4 separate regions of the Homo sapiens genome follow, and regions 2, 3 and 4 are each linked to region 1. Evidence: promoter capture Hi-C in human tissues and cell types (Jung and others, 2019). All regions are on one chromosome and are shown on one strand. The core of a region is centred on a gene start or on the middle of the fragment in contact, and the rest is flanking DNA. Distances in the headings are between cores, read along the strand shown. Region 1 holds the start of NKX2-2 (NK2 homeobox 2). Region 2 overlaps LINC01727 (long intergenic non-protein coding RNA 1727). Region 3 overlaps LINC01727 (long intergenic non-protein coding RNA 1727). Region 4 overlaps LOC105372558 (a long non-coding RNA gene).

What was found. Contacts are between HindIII fragments. The study calls those that stand out against the background at their distance.
Region 2: a contact is called between a fragment that was not itself captured here and the fragment with the promoter of NKX2-2 in region 1, in 4 of the 25 tissues and cell types used here (dorsolateral prefrontal cortex, hippocampus, lymphoblastoid cells and 1 more).
Region 3: a contact is called between a fragment that was not itself captured here and the fragment with the promoter of NKX2-2 in region 1, in 2 of the 25 tissues and cell types used here (bladder and dorsolateral prefrontal cortex).
Region 4: a fragment that was not itself captured here is called in contact with the fragment with the promoter of NKX2-2 in region 1 in 2 of the 25 tissues and cell types used here (dorsolateral prefrontal cortex and thymus).

Annotation. Positions count from the first base shown.
Region 1 is chr20:21,512,801-21,515,342 of GRCh38, reverse strand. It overlaps NKX2-2 (NK2 homeobox 2), which reads left to right and starts at 1,279. Exons shown (of 2, transcript NM_002509.4): 1 at 1,279-1,932. The coding sequence starts at 1,674. The HindIII fragment of the contact is 15,862 bases long and covers 1-2,542 here.
Region 2 is chr20:21,615,028-21,617,569 of GRCh38, reverse strand. LINC01727 (long intergenic non-protein coding RNA 1727) reads right to left here. Exons shown (of 4, transcript NR_109880.1): 3 at 2,043-2,187; 4 at 1,848-1,908. All of the region lies in intron 3 of LINC01726 (long intergenic non-protein coding RNA 1726), which reads left to right. Among named protein-coding and RNA genes, the nearest start is that of LINC01727, 46 kb to the right of the region's middle. The HindIII fragment of the contact is 3,224 bases long and covers 1-2,542 here.
Region 3 is chr20:21,595,659-21,598,200 of GRCh38, reverse strand. The region is part of intron 1 of LINC01727 (long intergenic non-protein coding RNA 1727); the gene reads right to left. Among named protein-coding and RNA genes, the nearest start is that of LINC01727, 27 kb to the right of the region's middle. The HindIII fragment of the contact is 3,254 bases long and covers 1-2,542 here.
Region 4 is chr20:21,436,705-21,439,246 of GRCh38, reverse strand. LOC105372558 (a long non-coding RNA gene) reads right to left here. Exons shown (of 4, transcript XR_001754528.1): 3 at 1,265-1,331. Among named protein-coding and RNA genes, the nearest start is that of NKX2-4, 40 kb to the right of the region's middle. The HindIII fragment of the contact is 8,149 bases long and covers 1-2,542 here.

The DNA.
Region 1 (2,542 bases), core at 30-2,529:
CACCCAGCGACCCCCCTCCCCCGCAGCTTTCTGGGTCTTCACCCAGGCTGGAGACACAACCCCCACCCCCACCCCCGCAATCCCGCCCCGCCGCCTTCCCGCTGCTCCACCTCTAGCCAGAGGCTGGAGAGGGAGGGGGCCGGAGAGGGAGGGATAATAGAGGGCAGGAAAGAGCAGGGCCGTCTGCCCTTTCCTCCACCCGGGGAAAGAGGCCCGCAGAGCCCAGAGGCAGCAGGGCCAGGGTCCGACCCCAGACGAAGTTGGAGCTCCTCACTCTTACCCCGCCCTCCCCGGGACCGCCCGCAAAGCAGAAAGTGAACTGCGCGTCCTCCTTGGCCGCAGAGAGGTGGAGGCGGGGGGTTGGGGGTGGGAGGTGGGGGGAGGCGGAGTGAAGGAAATAAATGAGTCTTTAGCAAATAAAGGGCGGCTGGAAGGGGGCGGGTCGCTTGGTGGTGGCTCTGGCCGGCCCGGAGCGGAGCTCTCTCCTGGGTTTTGGGCTCTCTCGCGGTTAACTGGAATCAATTACTTGCCTTGTCATTTCTAGCACTCATCCTTAAGCCTCAACCAAAATATTGACCTAGGAGGCTTACAGAAGTTGGGCTCTTGCCATTTGAACCGGATCTTGTTTAGGCAACCACCAACGATGGAAAGGAGAGATTTCCGCAGCTCGGCCTTCGCCCCCTCCCCCTTTTCCAAAGGCGCCACAAATCGCCAATTTTCCGGCTTGCCGGGGGTGGGCGCGCGGGGGCGGGGAGGTAGGAACCGGTGAATGTTAAAGAGGATTTTTTCCCTCCTCCTGGTTTCTGTTTTGTTTTCTCCCCTCCTCCTCCCCACCCCCACCTTTTTTAAGATGCAATTTGTTAAAACGGCCCTTTCAAGTGTGTGGACTCGCGAGCGACGCGGTGGCCCTTTGTATGTAAATACTGGGTTTAAAAAAAAAAAGGCTCGCCCCGTCTTTGCAATTAATTGACACGTTACACCTCTCATCTTGCTCTAGAGGGCCGTTGGCTGGGAGCGCGGAGCTCCCCAAAACCCACAATTTCACATCTGCAAATACTGTCTTCATCCACTTGACTCCCAAGACCCGCCCACACGTGGCCAACCTTTGCGTTTTTAATGTCTCTTCCCCCTTTTTTCCACCCTTCTCCCGCTCCCTCTCTCGCTCCCCCTCCCTCCCTCTTTCTTTCCCTCCCTCCCTCTCTTTCTCCCCCTCTCCCCGCCTCCCCAGGTTCGTGAGTGGAGCCCAGCCTTATATGGACTGATCGCTCGGGCAATGGCCCATTTTTTCCTCGCCACCAGCCGCCACCGCGCGCCGAGCGGCCGCCGGAGCCCGAGCTGACGCCGCCTTGGCACCCCTCCTGGAGTTAGAAACTAAGGCCGGGGCCCGCGGCGCTCGGCGCGCAGGCCGCCCGGCTTCCTGCGTCCATTTCCGCGTGCTTTCAAAGAAGACAGAGAGAGGCACTGGGTTGGGCTTCATTTTTTTCCTCCCCATCCCCAGTTTCTTTCTCTTTTTAAAAATAATAATTATCCCAATAATTAAAGCCAATTCCCCCCTCCCCTCCCCCAGTCCCTCCCCCCAACTCCCCCCTCCCCCGCCCGCCGGGGCAGGGGAGCGCCACGAATTGACCAAGTGAAGCTACAACTTTGCGACATAAATTTTGGGGTCTCGAACCATGTCGCTGACCAACACAAAGACGGGGTTTTCGGTCAAGGACATCTTAGACCTGCCGGACACCAACGATGAGGAGGGCTCTGTGGCCGAAGGTCCGGAGGAAGAGAACGAGGGGCCCGAGCCAGCCAAGAGGGCCGGGCCGCTGGGGCAGGGCGCCCTGGACGCGGTGCAGAGCCTGCCCCTGAAGAACCCCTTCTACGACAGCAGCGACAACCCGTACACGCGCTGGCTGGCCAGCACCGAGGGCCTTCAGTACTCCCGTAAGTAGCAAAACTTGGCTGCCGAGGCCGTGGTCCCCTCCATTCCTGCAGCCGCAGCCCGGGTTGGACGCTGGGAGTGAAAGGGGAAGGGGCCATGTAAGCCCGGACCCCCTCACTCGGATCCGTAGAAAGATTTTTAACACCTGTATAGGATGTCCTCTGCCCTCCTCTTCAAGCCTCCTTAGTTCCGGGAAAGAACTTGGTCTCCAAAATTTTTTTCAATGCGAGAAGTTAAGGAGAAAGAGGGAGAAGGGCTATACCTCCCAGGGGCTGGTATATGATGTCAACCCGGACCGATGGCTCCAGCCGCAGCCCCCGGACTCCGGCCGCTGGGAGGGACTGGCCTGGCGCCCTGGAGGTAGCCAGCGAGCCTCGTCCGGGTACGGGTGGAGGGTGGGGAGGCTTCGGGTGGCCCGGGTATAAATAGCTCACCCTGCCCCCTGCGCGATCATAGAGGACGCTTTGTGCAGTGCAGGGGGTGTCTAGAAGGCCCGAAAGCAGAAACGAAAGCCCCCAAAAACCTGCCTTAAATGGCCGAGCCGATCAATGCTGGGATTGTGGGGTATTTCTTTTAAAAATCTGCCCACGTCTCGCCGGAGAGGAAACCGCT
Region 2 (2,542 bases), core at 13-2,512, 100 kb before region 1:
GCTTTGTGTTGGATAATTTTTTCCAACCGTAGGCTAATGTAAGTGTTCTGAGCACATTTAATGTAGGCAAAATTGTTATAATATTCAGCAGATTTAGTGTATTAAATGCATTTTTACTTACATTTTTTCAACTTATTATGGGTTTATGGGATGTAATCTCATTTTAAGTCAAGAAGTGTGTTTATTCAATGACTTGATATAGATTCTGTATTAGAAAACTGTATTTTAGCAATGTATTTTAGCAATTCCCAAGTGTACCAATTATATTATGCTTAGGTAAGGGTGTGTCTTTGTTCTTAAGAGACACACACCAAAGCATTTAGGCATCAAGTGTTATGATGTCTATAGATAATTCCAAAGTGTGATAAAAACTAATAGAGAGCAGATGTGGCAAAAGGTTAACACCGGGTGGATCTACATTTGGTGAAGCACTTACAAGCACACATTGCACTTGTTCGTACAATTTTTTTCAAAGGCTGTTTTTTTTTTCCTAAAGAAAAATAAAGGAGAGAAAAAACTGATGAGGAAGCCTAGTATTGACAAGGTCGTGGGGCACTGGAAATTCTCCTGCGCAGCTGTTGGGAGTGTGAGCTGGCACATGCTGCCTGGAGGGAAGTCGGGCACATAGTAAAGCATAAATCGAGCATACACTTTGACCCACAAACTCCACAGCCCACCGCTTTCAGGTTAACTTAGAGAGAACTCACTAACGTGCAAAGATGTATATGCCCTAAAGTTTCACTGCAATCTTATTTTTTATACCAGAAAAGTAGGAAATGGCTTAATGTCCATCACTGGAAAACTGGTAAGTAAATTATGTTCATTTCTAGCCTACTAGTCAAGATCCTGGGCTCTGAGGTCAGATACCCTGGCAGTGCTGATCAATTTTCTTGTGCCACAGCCTGTTCATCTGCTTAATGGGCATAATACAAACTCCCGTTCTGTAGAGTCATTATGAGATTATGCAAGACCATGTATGTGCCTGGCATATAGCAGGTATGAAATCAGTATTATATACCATTAGCTTTATGTAATTGATAAAAAACGATGAGGCCTACCTTTATTTATGGACCTGGAAAGACGCTTCTGTCATAGTGTTGAATGAAAAAGTAGGTTATGGGATAGAGGAGTACAAGGTCTGATTGCACTTGTGTAAAAGTACATTTTTAATTCCCGTTTGAATATATTCGTAGCAAGATGTCTGGAAGATTGGCCACCTAAGCGTTAATAATGGGTCCCTAAGGTGAGGACGCTTCCAGTCTTTTATTTCCTTCTTTGTACATTTCTATATCCTTCCTTTTTTTCTTTTTTTCTTACAACACATGTAACAGTTTTACAATCAGATTCTATTTAATTGTAAAAATATTAATAAATCAGATCCATGGATCTTGCCTGCTCAGACCTGACTTTGTCTGAAGGGTTGACCAGATGCCCTGCTGATTGAGACCCCAGAGGCTACTTGCCTACCTTTGGTACAAGTCACTGTCCCTTCTCTCAGCCTGAGTGTTCTCTCTGCCAGGCACGCCGGAGGCATTTACGTGTTCAGCTCTTTGTTCTCTCCATGGGATTATGTTTTCCCCACATTTCTACCTCATTTTCACGCAGCCTGCAGCGTGTGTGTGAAGCATGTGTTTGGCTCAAGGGATGACAACACACCTGCAGAGGATTCACTGAAGCCTACCTTGGGGGGCACTCAGCTCTTTTCTGGGTGTTTTCTAAGGGCATCCACACTGTCCGGCAGAAATCCAGTTTGCAGCACCGTTTCCTCCCCAAGCCTGGTTTTCTGCAGCCTGGTCCCTCACCAAGGTGCCAGGATTGAGCTGACCACGAGATGGCAGTCTTTCCTTGCATCAGGCTGGCCGAAGCCTGCATCCCCAGACCTGTGTGCTTCTGAATCCAGCTTCTGTGCTGCCCGAAGCAATTTCAGCAAAGAGATTATTGACTAAAGAGACCTTCACTAAAGAAGAAAACAGTAGGATTAAATATTCGGAAACAGAAGAACTCGAAGAAGAAAATACAATTTCCCAACGTCACATGCTCACCCATCCTTCTCCTCTTCAACAAAAGTCACAACAGTTGTGTGTCCATTTGCAGTCTGGGGTAGAATTAGAATTGCCAAGCATCCCAGTGAGGTCTGAATCCACATTCCTTTATTTCTTTGTGCCACTCAAAGCCAGATATTGATGTCTGAAAACAAGATACATAAGCTTCATTATTTAAGTGTCTCTTCCTTAAACAAGACCGCTTTAATACTTAACAAGGTAGGGAAGCTACATAATTTAAAATCTATGCGACAAGAAATAAGAAATTATTTGTAGCGGGCTCCACTTTTACACCCACCAACAAAGAAAGACATTCACAATTTTTTGCCTTCCCAGGGCCCCAAAATACAACACAGGCCTGTTCTCCTGCTCCGGGCAGAAGCCGCAGCTGAAACTGTTCTTTATCAGCTTTTCTTTCTCAATATTTACCAACCAATAAATCTTTTTTCCCCTAAGACAACTGACATTCGAATCCTGTTCATGTGGAGGCTTGTTATCCA
Region 3 (2,542 bases), core at 23-2,522, 83 kb before region 1:
TTCTAACCTGGTCATGGGAGTGCCCAGAAGCAAAACCTCAGAACCCATGAAGTCTACAATTCTGGAGGTACCTACTCTACAGAATGGGAGCCCAGCTGGGCCTGAATTGAACATAGGGGAATTGGATGCAAACCTATGGAGGAAGATACACTTCCAGAGAGCTGCATGTCCCTCACTGTGTTAGAAGACTGAGCTTGACTCTCTTGGAAATAAAGTAGAACGTTTCTGGCCTGGGGGATACCAGGCACATGGGAGGACAGGTGTCCATACTACAAATAGTTCATTTTATGGAATTTCCATACTGAATATTGGAACCCTCAAACCTATTTACCCCCAGACTCACTGGCCAATAAATATACTGCCCAAAAGGAAATGAGAAGCTTATTCTCTGGGAAATTTGACCAACACAAGAGAAAGGACCTAGATCCTGACATCAAGAGTTCTCCTATGATGACCCGAAAAGATTACCACACAGTGGAACCCATAAGTGATAAGCCTTAACTATATGCTCAACATTTCCAATCTACTTTTCAATGCTCCACTTTTAAATTTCAGCAGACAGCTAAGGATCCCCAGACATGTAAGAAAAGCTCTAGCATGAAGTAGATCCCCCCTAAGAAAAAAACAGATCAAAGTAAATTAGAGGAAACAGAGCCCATGTAGAAAGACAAAAATTATACCAAAAAAGTATCTTTAATATTTTCAGAGAAATCAAATGAAGCTATTATATCAATGAATCTAAAACAACATTATGTAGAAAGGGAACGATCAGAGAACAAAAAATGAGCTCTTAAGAATTTAAAAATATGCTGGGCATGGTGGTACTTGCCTGTAGTCCCAGCTACTGAGGAGACTGAGCCAGGAGGACCACTTGAGTCCAGGATTTCAAGGCTGCAGTGCCCTATGTGATCCCACCTGTGAATAGCCACTGCACTCCAGCCTGGGTAGCATAGCAAGCCTCTGTCTCTTAAAAAAAATAATTAAAAATATGATAGTAGAAAAAAACTCAGAAGAAGTTTGGGAAGTATAGCTCTTCTAAAAAAAAATAAAAGAGTTAGAATTTAAATTTTAAAATACCTTTAAAATTAGAAGATCAGTCCAGGAGGGTCCATAACCAGCAATGAAAGTTCAAGAATGTAAACACAGAGAGGAGAATATTCTTTTTTAAAGTAAATAAATTAACTCAATAAGGTTTACCAGAACTGAAAGACATGAGTCTCCAGGTTGCAATCCCATATCAAATATTCTTCAAAATAGGTGAAAATAGATTTATACCAAGGCTTATTATTTGGGAATTTTAGAGTATTGGAAACAAAGAGAAGGCTCTAAACATTTCCATAAAGAAAATAAAATTGTGTATACAAAGGATTAAGAATCCTTTGTTGTTGGACTTCTCAACAACACCACCAAAGCTAGAAAAAAGTGTTTCCAACCTGAAATTCTGTATTCAGCAAGATGTCGACAAGCACAAGGATAAAATAAAGACATTTTCAAACTTTTGAGGCCAAACTTTTGTGTCTCTTTTGGGTACACTTTTGCAGAAAGCAACTTGAGAGGTGCTTCCCTACATGGATTTTACAAGTTGCTGGTGAATGGTACACCCACACAATGAAGAAAAGGCACAGAATAATTCAAGTAGTGGAATTTGAAAATATAGGTTTTTCTACCCAAATGGAAAAAAATCTTTATTTTTTTTTCTGGTCTTAAAATATGGGGAACTTCAGGTTAAACCTGGAGACCGAATGCAAGTATTGATCACTATTTCTTCCTCAAACCCTTCTAAAATGATTTAAAGGAGCGGAAATTGAAAAGAGGCAAGGAAATTGCAGGGGTGGAGGCAGTAAATCAAGAAAGAAAGATGTGAGATCCAGAGCACATTCTTTTGAGGTGAGATCCATCCCAAAAGAAAAGCAGAAAGAACCAGATGGCAGTTCAGGGAGCTTCTAGGGTGGCCGAGCAGGTCAGGAGAGAGGCCTGCAATCTTGGGACAAGAGGACGGGGACATCTAGGAGGGGTGTCATCAAGATGATGAAACTGCTCCCAAAATACTTGAATGTCCTTGAGGCAGGAGACTGGCAGGACTTATTTTTGAGTCACAACCCCGCTGATGGAAGCAGGATCTAGTCAGAACAGGATGCAGGGAAGAAGCCACCCAAAACCAGCAGACAGCAATGAAAGCAACCTCCAGTTGGCCTAACTGCTCATTACCATGAAGACACTTCCACTAGTGCCATGGCAGCTTGTAAACGCCATGGCAACAAGCCATGGCAACAGCCTGGAAGTTAACTTAAATGGTTCCTGAAACTTCCCGCCTCTTTTCCAGAAACTTCTCAATAACCCACCTCTTAATTAGCATGTGATTCAAAGTGGTATAAATACAGTTGCCAGCGTACACTGCTGATGCTGGGCACACTGCCTATGAGCCAGGCACTGCTTGTTAAAAGTTGCTTTCTCTCACCACTGACCTTGAATTCTTCCCTGGGTGAAGCAAAGAACCCTCTCATGCTAAGTCTCAATTTTGGACCTTCCCTGCCCTGCATCA
Region 4 (2,542 bases), core at 23-2,522, 76 kb after region 1:
GCCAGGTGTAGTGGCATGCACCTGTATTCCCAGCTATTCAGGAGGCTGAGACAGGAGGAGTGCTTGAACCCAGGAGTCTGAGACTGTAGGGAGCTATGACTGCACCACTTCACTCCAATAAAGGGCAATAAAGTGAGAACCTGTCTCACAAAAAAAAAGAAAAAGAAAGAAAGAAAGAAAGAAAAAGAAAAGAAAAGAAAGGCAGGCAGGCTGAGCAGAGTTTAGAGGAAAACTATTGAGAAGATAATGTCACATAATGAGGTTGGGGTGTTTTATATTTTAGAATATAGCATCTTGGCTTGTGATGGTTTGATTTACTTTTTTCTTTTTTTCTTTTTTTTTTTTTTTTGAGATGGAGTCTTGCTCTGTTGCCCAGACTGGAGTGCAGTGGCACAATCTCAGCTCACTGCAGCCTCGGCCTCCCAGGTTCAAGCGATCCTCTCCTGTCTCAGCCTCCCAAGTAGCTGGGATTACACATGTGTGCCACCACACCTGGCTAATTTTTGTATTTTTAGTAGAGAAAGGGTTTTGCCATGTTGCCCAGACTGGTTTGGAACTCCTGACCTCAGGTGATCCACCCGCCTCAGCCACCCAAAGTGCTGGGATTACAGGTGTGAGCCACCTCACCTGGCCAACTTACATTTTTCAAAACTATTCTGATGGGTTTATCAGGGTATTAAATGCATTTTACACTTATGATATTTTCAACTAATGGTGAGTTTATTGGGACATAACCCCATCATAAGTCAAGGAGCATTTGTATTAATTTTTTAATTACCAGTTAGTCAGGGTTCTCCAGAGAAACAGAACCAAAAGGATATATATATATATATGAATTGACTCATGTGATTGTGGAGCTGGAAAGTCTCAAATCTGCAGACCAGGCTGGAGACAGAACTCCTTCCTCTGGGGACCTCGCTCTTTTCTCATAATGTCTGTAACTGATTGGACAAGGCCCACGTACATTATGGAGAGTAATATGCTAGCTCAAAGCCTACTGATTTAAGTGTTAATCAGTTTAAACAGTACCTTCACAGCAACACCTAGACTGGTATTAGACTAAACAACTGGGCACCATGGCTTGGTCAAGTTGATACACAAAATTAGCTATTATATCTTTATATCTTTAGTACAGATTCTACGTATTAGAAAGATGAAAACATCATGCCACTCCTAATTCCAGCCTTTCCAAATGCTTTAAGATGCCATGCAATCACATGCTAAAATCTGATTCACTGACCCAGAGAAATAAGTAACTACTTACTAATACAGCAGCCCTTGAACATGGTTCCATGATCTATTCAGACCTCTTGAAGGATGACAGAAACATTCTAATGGTAAATGAGAACAATATTTGACATTGCCATATTTTCTTATGAACATAAGCATAAACTACAACATTAAATAGTAACATCGGAGGATCATCAGATTGTATTAAAGTTTAACATTTTATAAGACTGACATGCTGCCAACTGTGCCAACAGGATGATTAAAGTTTAACATTTTAGATACCTGTTTTGGGGAAATTATGTCTGAACATCATGATTTTACTTTTATAGCATTATTTCATCATCATATTAGTATTGTGTTTATTTTCATAAGGAACAAGATATAGTTCTCTTTCAATAATCAACATGTAGGTACACTAAATGTGATTTTGACAGATTATAATGATTACATTGGTCATGTTATAGTATAGGTTCTGTCAGGATTGTACAGTAATTGCTTAAATTTTTCTGAGTTCAGAGCTTACTGATATAATTCCATTTGACTTAATAAACAAATCTAATCCATGTAAATGCTGACATTATGATTTATTTGCATTTTACTACTGAATTTTTAGTTTTAATTACAAGAAGCCAATATCACTCATGACTTGAAAATTATTGCCCCTGTTTTAAGTAAAATTTTGTCCAACATTTTCCAGAAAAGCGGGATCAATGATTGTTACTTTCCCATTTTTAATTTTTGAGAGGTTTCTATATTAACAATTTTTATTTCTGCCAAATATGTCTAGCAAAGAAATCTCTCAACCTCATGAACTTGAACTAAGTGTGAAATTCCTGTTGCTCTCTCAGAAATTTCTGGTTTGGAATTCTGACAAGCAGAGAAATGGAATAAAAAGGATTTCTGCAGTGAAAGACACTTGAATAATGCCTTGAAAATGAAAGCAAACTATCTAACACATAACAAAAACCTATGTAGGAAACATGTATCAAAGGATTTAAAAAGGCACAGTAGTATAGAAACAAAAGAATAGAATACTAATCTTTTAAAAACAAATAACTACAAATGGAATTTATGACACAAGAGCCTGGTATAGGACAAGCTTTACAGAATGCAAAAATTAATCACATAGCATAGCATTAAGTGGTGAAAAATGAGTAATATTTGATTCTTCAGTTTTGCCAACCCAATCATTCAGGCCTTGAAAATTAGTATTGAACATGGAGTCCAACTTATCTCAAACTAAAAATGGTCACAAAGATATATGTAGTTAATCTAAGTCAAAGAACCCACTAAACTGAAATGGCCATTTACA